Linked DNA regions of Homo sapiens: region 1 is linked to region 2. Evidence: promoter capture Hi-C in human tissues and cell types (Jung and others, 2019). All regions are on one chromosome and are shown on one strand. The core of a region is centred on a gene start or on the middle of the fragment in contact, and the rest is flanking DNA. Distances in the headings are between cores, read along the strand shown.

The links. Contacts are between HindIII fragments. The study calls those that stand out against the background at their distance.
Region 1: a fragment that was not itself captured here is called in contact with the fragment with the promoter of PDILT in region 2 in 3 of the 25 tissues and cell types used here (aorta, hippocampus and lymphoblastoid cells).

What each region holds. Positions count from the first base shown.
Region 1 is chr16:19,590,377-19,594,914 of GRCh38, reverse strand. VPS35L (VPS35 endosomal protein sorting factor like) reads right to left here. Exons shown (of 31, transcript NM_020314.7): 8 at 3,041-3,125. Among named protein-coding and RNA genes, the nearest start is that of VPS35L, 37 kb to the right of the region's middle. The HindIII fragment of the contact is 7,605 bases long and covers 1-4,538 here.
Region 2 is chr16:20,402,719-20,407,888 of GRCh38, reverse strand. PDILT (protein disulfide isomerase like, testis expressed) reads left to right here and starts at 3,152. Exons shown (of 12, transcript NM_174924.2): 1 at 3,152-3,393. The HindIII fragment of the contact is 3,912 bases long and covers 830-4,741 here.

The DNA of each region.
Region 1 (4,538 bases), core at 666-3,165, 810 kb after region 2:
CACCGCCTTCAAGCACCTGCTCAGGTAACCTCTCAACGAGGCTTCCTCTGAGCACCTTACTTAAACTTGCACCCCTACCCCCTCACCTAATTCCCTCCATTCCTCTTCACCCCCTCACCCCACTCTGGTTTTCTCCATAGCATGGATCATTGTCTAACATACAATTGGGTTGACTTAATTGTTTTGTAAATTCTCTTTTTTGGAAACATAAGCACCACAAAGGCGAGGATTTTTTTTCTCTTCTTTTTTTTTTTTTTTTTTTTTTTTTTTGAGACGAAATCTCAGCTCTGTGGCACAGGCTGGAGTGCAGCAGCGCGATCTCAGCTCGCTGCAACTTCCACCTCCCGGGTTCAAGCGATTCTCCTGCTTCATCCTCCCAAGTAGCTGGAATTACAGGTGCCTGCCACCAAGCCTGGCTAATTTTTATATTTTTAGTAGAGATGGGGTTTCACCATGTTAGCCAGTCTGGTCTCGCACTCCTGACCTGAAGTGATCCAACCACCTCAGCCTCCAAAAGTGGTAGGATTATAGGCGTGAGCCACTGTGCCTAGCCAAGGCAAGGATTTTTATCCCTTCTGTTTGCTGACACCTCCCTAGTGGCCTGCAGAGAGCCTGATACCACCTCTCCGGGCCATCTGAACCCATCAGGGCTCATCTGTCAGCTGGGACATCTCTTCTTTTTGCCCAGGTAGCATCCACTCCCCTTTCTTCTGCTAACTGTATCACTCTTTTAGTTTTGGGGTGACCCAGGCCTGGATAATCAGTGCATTTCATCCCCCAGATAACACAACTGGCTCAGGGACTGACATGTGATCCAAGCCAGGCCAATAAGATGGGATTCTGAAACTTCTGTGGGAATGCTTGGAGAAAGTAGCTCTTTCCATGCCCTGGGACCACTAGCAATAAAGCTAGCAGAAGCTGAGGACAGCTTGTGAAGCTCGAGAATGCACCCAACCAAGGGCAAGGTCTTTTTTTTTCTCTTTTCTTTTTTTTTTTTGGAGACGGAGTCTCGCCCTGTCGCCCAGGCTGGAGTGCAGTGGCGTGATCTTGGCCCACTGCAATCTCCACCTCCTGGGTTCAAACAATTCTCCTGCCTCAGCCTCCCAAGTAGCTGGGACTACAGGTGTGCACCACAACACCCAGCTAATTTTTGTATTTTTAGTAGAGACGGGGTTTCACCATGTTGGCCAGGCTGGTCTTGAACTCCTGACTGCAGATGATCCACCCACCTCGGCCTCCCAAAGTGTTGGGATTACAAGTGTGATGAGCCACCATGCCCGGCCCAAGGGCAAGGTCTTAATGACACTGTTTGGGTTCCTGGATCCAGCTGCACCTGAAGCCAAACTACCCCTGGACTTTTCAGCATAAGCCAATAAAGACCCACTTTTTCAAGGTTAGTTAGCTTTCTTGTCACTTGTTTTAGCTAGCGCACTCAGGCCTCCGGTCTCTTGGACAGGACTGGGATGCACAGAAATGAATGAGTCTCTCAGATTGATAGTCTGCTTTCTGACACATTGTATCTTTCGATGGGTTTACAGATAAGATTTGCTGGGTTGGGAGCCCATTAGTCCCTGTAAGACAGTGAATGTCTCTGTTCTGATCTTCCACGTGTTCAGCTCTCAGAAGGCGCCCCTATTTCCTGGTTCTGGTGGGGTGCCTTGCTGTGGGGCACATCATATACAGCTTAGAGGGCTGCATGGTTTGAGCAAACTGCTAATGGCACGATGTTCTGGCCTAACCAACCACTGCCAAGCAGCACAGGGGCCTCCTGCTCCTCCAGGTTATTCTCTTCAGTCTAAACCTTTCTACCTGGCTCCAAAAGGTCTCTCTACCTGTGAGGTGGTGTGTGGGACTAGGGGCAGCCACAGTGATGCAGGAAGCTATCCAGGTGGGAGAGGACTGTGGCTAGGATTAAAATTTTAACAGTGAGGCTGGGCACAGTGGCTCATGCCTGTCATCCTAGCACTTAGGGAGGCCGAGGAGGGCAGATCACTTGAGGTCAGGAGTTTGAGACCAGCCTAGCCAACATGGTGAAATCCCATCTCTACTAAAAATACAAAAACTAGCTAGGCGTGGTGGTGCGTGCCTGTAATCCCAGCTACTGGTGAGGCTGAGGGAGGAGAATCACTTGAACCCCGGAGGCAGAGGTTGCAGTGAGCCAACATCACGCCACTGTACTCTAGCCTGAGTGACAGAGACTTTATCTCCAAAAAAAAAAAAAAAAATTTTAACAGTGAAGAAAGAAAAAAATAGACATGCTGGGGAGAGCTTTAGGAGGCTGAACCGAAGAATCTGGTGACTGGACATGGGCATGTGGGGGAAGATGCTCAGATTCCCAGCTCAGGCAACTGGGTACATGGTGGTGCCATTCCTGGAGACAGAAACTCAGTGGGAAAAGAGAAAGGGCTGGGAACAGATGCCAAGTTCAGTTTCAGGTGCCTGTGAGACGGCAAGGGACCCATGCTGCTTAGTGCCCCCAGCCTGCCCTGCTTCACTCATTCACTTTACTAGTCTATCACAAGATTAGGAAAAACAGGCCAGGCATGGTGGCTCATGCCTGTAATTCCAGCACTTTGGGAGGCTAAGGCAGGAGGATCACTTGAGGCTAGGAGTTTGAGAGCAGCCTGGGCAACACTGCGAGACTCTGTCTCTACCAAAAAAAAAAAAAAAAACTTAGCTGGGCACGGTGGCATGAGCCTGTAGCCCCAGCTACTCAGGAGGCTGAGGCAGGAAGACGGCTTGAGCCCAGGGGTTTGAGGCTGCAGTGAGCCATGACTGCGCCACTGCCCTCCAGTCTGGATAACAGAGCAAGACCCTGACTCAAAAAAAAAAAGAAGAAAAAATAAAATTTTAGAAATTTTAGAATGTTTCAAAAATAGCGCCCTTATTAATGGGCGTGGGGGGGAACGGTTTGATCTCTCCCATGACTTACTTAATAACTTAAACCACAGCAGAACCTAATTTACAGTAACTCTACCACCCAATTCTTGACAAAACGAACACATTTCCTAGATCTAAGATGCATATGACAGGTACTTACCAAATGTATCAAGTATGTCGGTGATAAGGACAAATTTGCTTGGGTAGAACTGAATAACACTGGTGTCTGAAAGAAGCTTTGAACACTAAAAAAAGAGAAAAAAAGAGAAAATTCACTCTGGCATGTCTGGTATGGGTAGGACACTCCAGATCTGAAAAATTAATGGTTTCTATATACAAGTTGAGATACTTACTATGTGCCAAGGCCTGTGCGAGGTGCTGAGCATACAATGACAAGCTAAACCACTGTGCTTTTCACAGAGAGAGCCGGACTCTGCTTACAACAGAACCTCTTCTTTGTTTTCCCTTCCTTTTTTTTTTTTGTAGAGATGGGGTCTCGCTATGTTGCCCAGGTTGGCCTTAAACTCCCAACCTCAAGTGATCCTCCCACCTCAGCCTCCCAAAGTGCTGGAATTACAGGCGTGAGCCACCGCACCCGGCCCATAACAGTCTCTTAAGAAAATACACTATCACCTTCTTCAGGAAAGCCTTATCCAAAAGGATCCTGCTTGTATACTGAACCAGGAAGCACTCAAAATCACTGAGAGAAGTGAATGACATCTCTCTCATCACAGTCCTCATCTGTGGCCCCATCTTTGTTCAATTGCTTTGCAGACTGGCTTCTTCTGTTGATTTCAGGGTGATCAGCATCCTTAAACATTCTTTTCTAAGAAATGACCCCATAAGTAAATCCCCAAGGCTTCATAAACTCACACTGATTATTTATACTCAGTCCCAAATTCCCCCCAAAAGGAACATAAGCTTCAGTGAATACATGTTACTCTGGAAATATGACCTTCAATGCTGAAAACATTTCAGCTTTGCGGGGAATTGCTGAATTCTACATTCTCATTCATGCCAAAGGGTCACAGCCATGTTCAGGACTATTTAATTTTTTTAAATTTTATTATTATTTTATTAGAGATAAGGTCTTGCTCTGTCGCTCGGGCTGGAGTGCATTGGTGCAATCATAGCTTACTGCAGCAATGAACTCCTGGGCTCAAGCAATCCTCCTGCCTCAGCCTCCCGAGTAGCTGGGACTACAGGTATGTACCACCATGGTTGGCTAATTTTTTTTCTTTAATTTTATGTAGAGGCAGGTTCTCACTATGTTGCTCAGGCTGGTCTTGAACTCCTGACCTCAAGCAATCCTCCCACCTCAGCCTCCCAAAGTGCTGGAAATACAGGTATGAGCCACTGCACCCGGCCAACATGTTCAGAACTCTTTTTTTGAGTACTCGTCTGCTATTTAGCGTTCAGGACTTTTAATGGAAGACCGCAGTCACACAATGTGGCCCCAAACACCTTTGATTATCTTTTATCATCAGAAACAGAAAAGCTCTTTCTACTTTGAAGAACTAAATTTAATGCCATGCCCTGAAGACTTTACAAATTCAAAAGTCAGCATAAGGAATTAAATAACTGCCACACTTCATCACCTCAATGGTTGACCCTCAGAAAGAAAAATGTCATTTAAAAATTAAAAAAAAGATGTTCAG
Region 2 (5,170 bases), core at 1,903-4,402:
TGATACAGGCATGCAATGCGTTAGAATCACATCAGGGTAAATGGGGTGTCCATCACCTCAAACATTTATCCTTTGTGTTACAAACAATCCATTTATACTATTGTAGTTATTTTAGGTGTATGGTTACATTATTTTTGAAGATAGTCATCCTATTGTGCTAGGAAATACTAGGCCTTATTCATTCACTCTTACTACTTTTTTGTACCCATTAACCATCCCCACTTCTCCTCCAACTCCCTGCAACACTTTCCAGCCTCTGGTAACCGTCCTTCTACTGTCTCCATGAGTTCATTTGTTTTCCTGTTTAGCTCCCACAGGTAAGCGAGAATGTGCAATGTTTGCTTTCTATGCCTGGCTTACTTCCCTTAATGTAATGACTTCCAGTTCCATCCATGTTGTTGCAAATGACAGGGTTATGGGTGTCCTATAGAGAGGATGCTGAGCCATTAACTGCCTATCTTTGCAGTGATTCAAACTTCACCCTGGATTTTTATCCATCACTGTATGTTGTTCCCCTGTGACTCTGTCTCATTTCCTGGCCTGGCCAGTTTGGCCCATTTCCACGCAGGCAGCTCCTCTCCCTTGCCGCCAAGCTTGGCCACAGGGAACCATCTTATGAGCCCTCAATGTCCATTTGCTCAGCATTCAGTCCTCTACTGCGACCCAGGATACAACCTCATCTCTGAATCTGCAGCCAGATGTAAAGATACAATCTCTACCCTCAGAGGGGTGGACGGACTGTTGAACATTATTTCTCCAGCAGTCTAATCTCAATATCGTTACTCTCAATCAGTACTTTTTAGAAGAATATATAATCATAAGTCATGACAAATGTTTCATAAATGTTCAATGAAAGAACTGGATACACTTTATAGACAATATAATCACAATTTTATTTTTAAAAAGTATATATTAATCCCATACGTAACAAAATATGAATGTTTCTCTAAGTAAGATGATGTATGATTTCAATTAACTCATTTTTTCTGTATGTTCTATGTTTTAGAAATTAAATCCTGTTCTTTTCTAATCAGAAAGAAATTAATGTTATTTTATAAAAAGAAGCTTTAAGCCGGGCACAGTGGCTCACGCCTGTAATCCCAGCACTTTGGGAGGCCGAGGTAGGTGGATCACCTGAGGTCAGGCGTTTGAGACCAGTTTGGCCAAAATGGTGAAACCTCGTCTCTACTAAAAATACAAAAATTAGCCGGCCGTGGTGGTGCATGCCTGTAATCCCAGTTACTCAGGAGGCTGAGGCAGGAGAATTACTTGAACTCAGGAGGCGGAGGTTGCAGTGAGCCAAGATTGCACCACTGCACCCCAGCCTGGGCAAGAGAGCAAGACTCTGTCAAAAAAAAAAAAAGCAGCAGCAGCTTTATCAGTAAATGAGTATCATCATAAAAGTGCCTATGTTATGTCAAGAAACAACTGTGTGCAAGAGTGAAGGAAAATGAATGAAGGACATTTGGGATAATAACCCAAGTGTTTTAGTTTGTGACTAACAGTTGACAAGTGTGAAAGATGTCAAAATAATATATGCCAGACTAGATTGTTGATTTAGGCCTGGGAGAAAAAAGAGTCAAACACATCCCAGGAATTATTTGCAAACACAACATCCAGAAAAGGAATAATTGCCAAGAAAAGTTGAAAGGGACATGATGAGTTCAAATTAAGACATTCAGATATTCAGTGAGTGTGGTTCAACCAAAAAGAGCTTTTCTAATAGGCAGATGGAAAACGGTCTTAATAGTAAATGTAATCAATTGATCAAATCCTGGAGAGTAAATGAGAGAGTAACTTATAAAGGGGTGTATTTGAAGTCATGCATTTAAACAAGCCAACAAAAGTATGGAAGTTAAGTATGGAAAGAGAAGAGTGGGGCCGCATGCCGTGGCTCACGCCTGTAATCCCAGCACTTTGGGAGGCCGAGGCAGGCAGATCATTTGAGGTCAGGAGTTTGAGACCGACCTGGCCAATGTGGTGAAACCCCGTCTCTACTAAAAATACAAAAATTAGCCAGACGTGGTGGTGCATGCCTGTAGTCCCAGCTACTCAGGAGGCTGAGGCAGGAGAACCGCTTGAACCCTGGAGGTGAAGGCTACAGTGAGTGGAGATCGCGCCACTACACTGTCTCAAAGAAAAAGAAAAGAAAGAGAAGAGCAAAGCGCTAGGACTAAAACCCACAGATGTTAAAATTTAGTGAAATGAATGTTAGTCATCTCCATCAGTATTTAATAACAGTTGGGCAGCAGATAGCCAAAGGCTGCAAACTCTGACAGTAATAACGATGCTAATAATATCAACAGCCTTTTCTTTATTCATTCAACAAATATTTACTGAGCACCTATCACCAGGTAAGCAAAGTAAATTATGTGGAGTTTAGAAGAAAATTAATGCTATGAAGGAAAATAAAGCCTGGAAGGAGGATGAGGAACGCCTGAGAGGGGGATGGGGCACTTACAAATTTAAACAAAGTGGCCAGGAAAGGCCCAACTGTGGAAGTGACATTTGGGCAAAGACTGGAACGAGCTAAGGGGTGAACCCTGAGTCCACCTGGGTGAAGAGCCTCCCTAACAGGGGAAACCACAAGTGTAGAGGCCCAGACATTGTATTGGAGGACTGGCAGGGACACCAGTGTGGCTGGAGCAGGGTGAGTGGAGATCTTTCTCCCCTAGGAGATGAGGCCAGGGTGGTGATGCGTGAGGGGCTCCTGCCTTCTAGGTACTGAGCTGCTCGTTTTGCATAAATCCTCTTATTTTATCCCATCCCCCTCTCAGGCGTTCCTCATCATCCTTCCAGGTTTTATTTTTCTTCATATCATTAATTATCTTCTAAATTCCACATAATTTACTTTGCTTACAACACCCCCATGAGTTAGATGCCATGTAACAGGCATGGAAACTGAACCTCAGAAAGAGTAAGTGACATTCTCAAGGCCATACAGCTGTTCAAGACAGAGCTGGGATTCAAATTCCAATCTATAGGCACTGAGTTCAGAGCCCTCCTGGGCCATACCCAGCACCCCACACTGAGTTTTGTTTCTAGCCCCTCAAGCAAACTCAGCAAGGGCTGCCAGGCAGGGCCCCCTCTTACTCAACAATGGCCCATTCTTCTACAGGGTCACCCCTGGTCCTCTAGAACCCCAGAACTCAGAACTTTGCTGCTGAGGCTGCTGTGGCCTCTGTGTGCCCAGGAAGGGACTTCATTTCTGCCTGTGGATTCTTTAGAATGCCCAGTCGTCTGCGGGTCCTGCCCTGATCACAAGGAGAAGCCAGGAGCCTCCTCTTCAGGCTACAACCTTCCTTCTTAAGGGCCACAGAGTTTGTGGCCCCACCCCCAGCACAGCCCCACCTTGGCCCCAGGAACCCTGGGAGTGGCCTTGGCTTCCTGCAGGTATGAGCTTCAGTGAAAATGGGAAATCTGACTGATGGGCCCTGCCTTGGGAGGCTTTTCTCTACCAGGAGTCACCAGTTTAAGTTTTAAGTGTCAGTTTTGGTGTATAGATGGCTACACATTAGGATCAACTTGAGGATTTTAAAAAATAATAATAATGCCCAGACTCACCCAACCCCAGATCAATTAAATTAGAACCTACTGGGTTTGGGTTTGAACATCAGTATTTTTTATTAAACTCTCCAAGAGATTCTCAGCATAGTCATGGTTGAGAACCACTGAAATGAACCAATGGGGTTTGCTGTAAGAGTTAAATTAGGCCATTCATTCATTCATTCAACAAACATTCATTGAGTTCCAAATCTGGTACAGGCACTGTTCTGAAGGGGAGAAAACAGCTGTGAACAATGGTATTTACATTAAAAAGTTCAAAATGACAACAACAACAAAGTACACTCATAAATAATAATACAAAATATGATGCAAACAATGGTGATATGGCAGAGAGTGCTGAAAGCTGAGATGGGGTGAGACAGAGTGGCCCGGGAAGACCCTTCTGATGAGCGTGGATTCGAGCTAGGACCCAGAGAACCAGAAAAGGCTGACGATGTGAGGGAAGGGTGCCCCAGACAGAGGCAAAGGCCCCGGGTAGGGTGTGCTTGGGAAAGGGAAGAGGCCAGTGTGGCTCCCCAGAGTGCGGGAGGAGAGAGAGAGAGGAGGGCGATAAGGTCAGATGGGTCCAGAGCCAGTGGGGCCTGGTAGACCACAGAGAACAGTTTGGCTGGTGTGCGGTTTTGCGAATGGATTGTAAAAAAAAAAGAGGCAGAAGCTTTTTTTTGCACAAAAGTGAGCACCTTTTGATAGGCACAGTGGTGTGATGGAATTCCTGTGTCGAAAGGAAATCTCTGCTGGGCACGGTGGCTCACGCCTGCAATCTCAGCACTTTGGGAGGCCCAGGCAGGTGGATCACCTGAGGTCAGGAGTTTGAGACCAGCCTGGCCAACATGGTGAAATCCCGTTTCTACTAAAAATACAAAAATTAGCCGGGCATGGTGGCGGGTGCCTGTAGTCCCAGCTGCTAGGGAGGTTGAAGCAGGAGAATCGCTTAAACCCAGGAGGCGGAGGCTGCAGTGAGCCAAGATCATGTGATTGCACTCCAGCCTGGGCAACAAGAGCAAAACTCTGTCTCAAACAATAAAAATAAAAATAAAGGAAATGTCTGATTGTTGTGTGGGGAATGGGTTGAGGTGAAGCACAAAGAGTAGAAGCAGAGGCAGGATCAGTAAGGAGGTTACCACACCCTCTTGGCGGGAAACCACAGTGGCTGGGACATGGGGTCTCTCCACGGCATACAGGGAGAATGCACACAGGGAGAATGTGGAGGGAATGCACACAGTTGACACTCAGCACAATATGGCTGGTGACCAGCCCCTCGATTTTGGCTATTCTCATTAATAAAAGTTTCCCATGACAGCCACTCTCCTCTGAGTAGGGGGTAGGGAGCTGATGTTGGAGCTGAGCTTGGACTTTGTGAGGCTGGGGGACACAGCGGAGCCACAGTGGTGTCAGGCTAGAAAGGCAGGTGCCGGCAGAACCAAGGGCCAAGGCTGAGAGAATAAAGGGGCAGGTCAGGGCAGGCTGCAGGCAGGATGGCTGAGAGCACAGTCCCAGGGCTGGACAGGGTGGATGCTACAGTCTCAGGGGAGCCCTGGGATGCTGCAGAGCTGAGCCAGGTATTGTGGGAGAGATTGGGAGAAAAAACAGCAGCAGGGCAGAG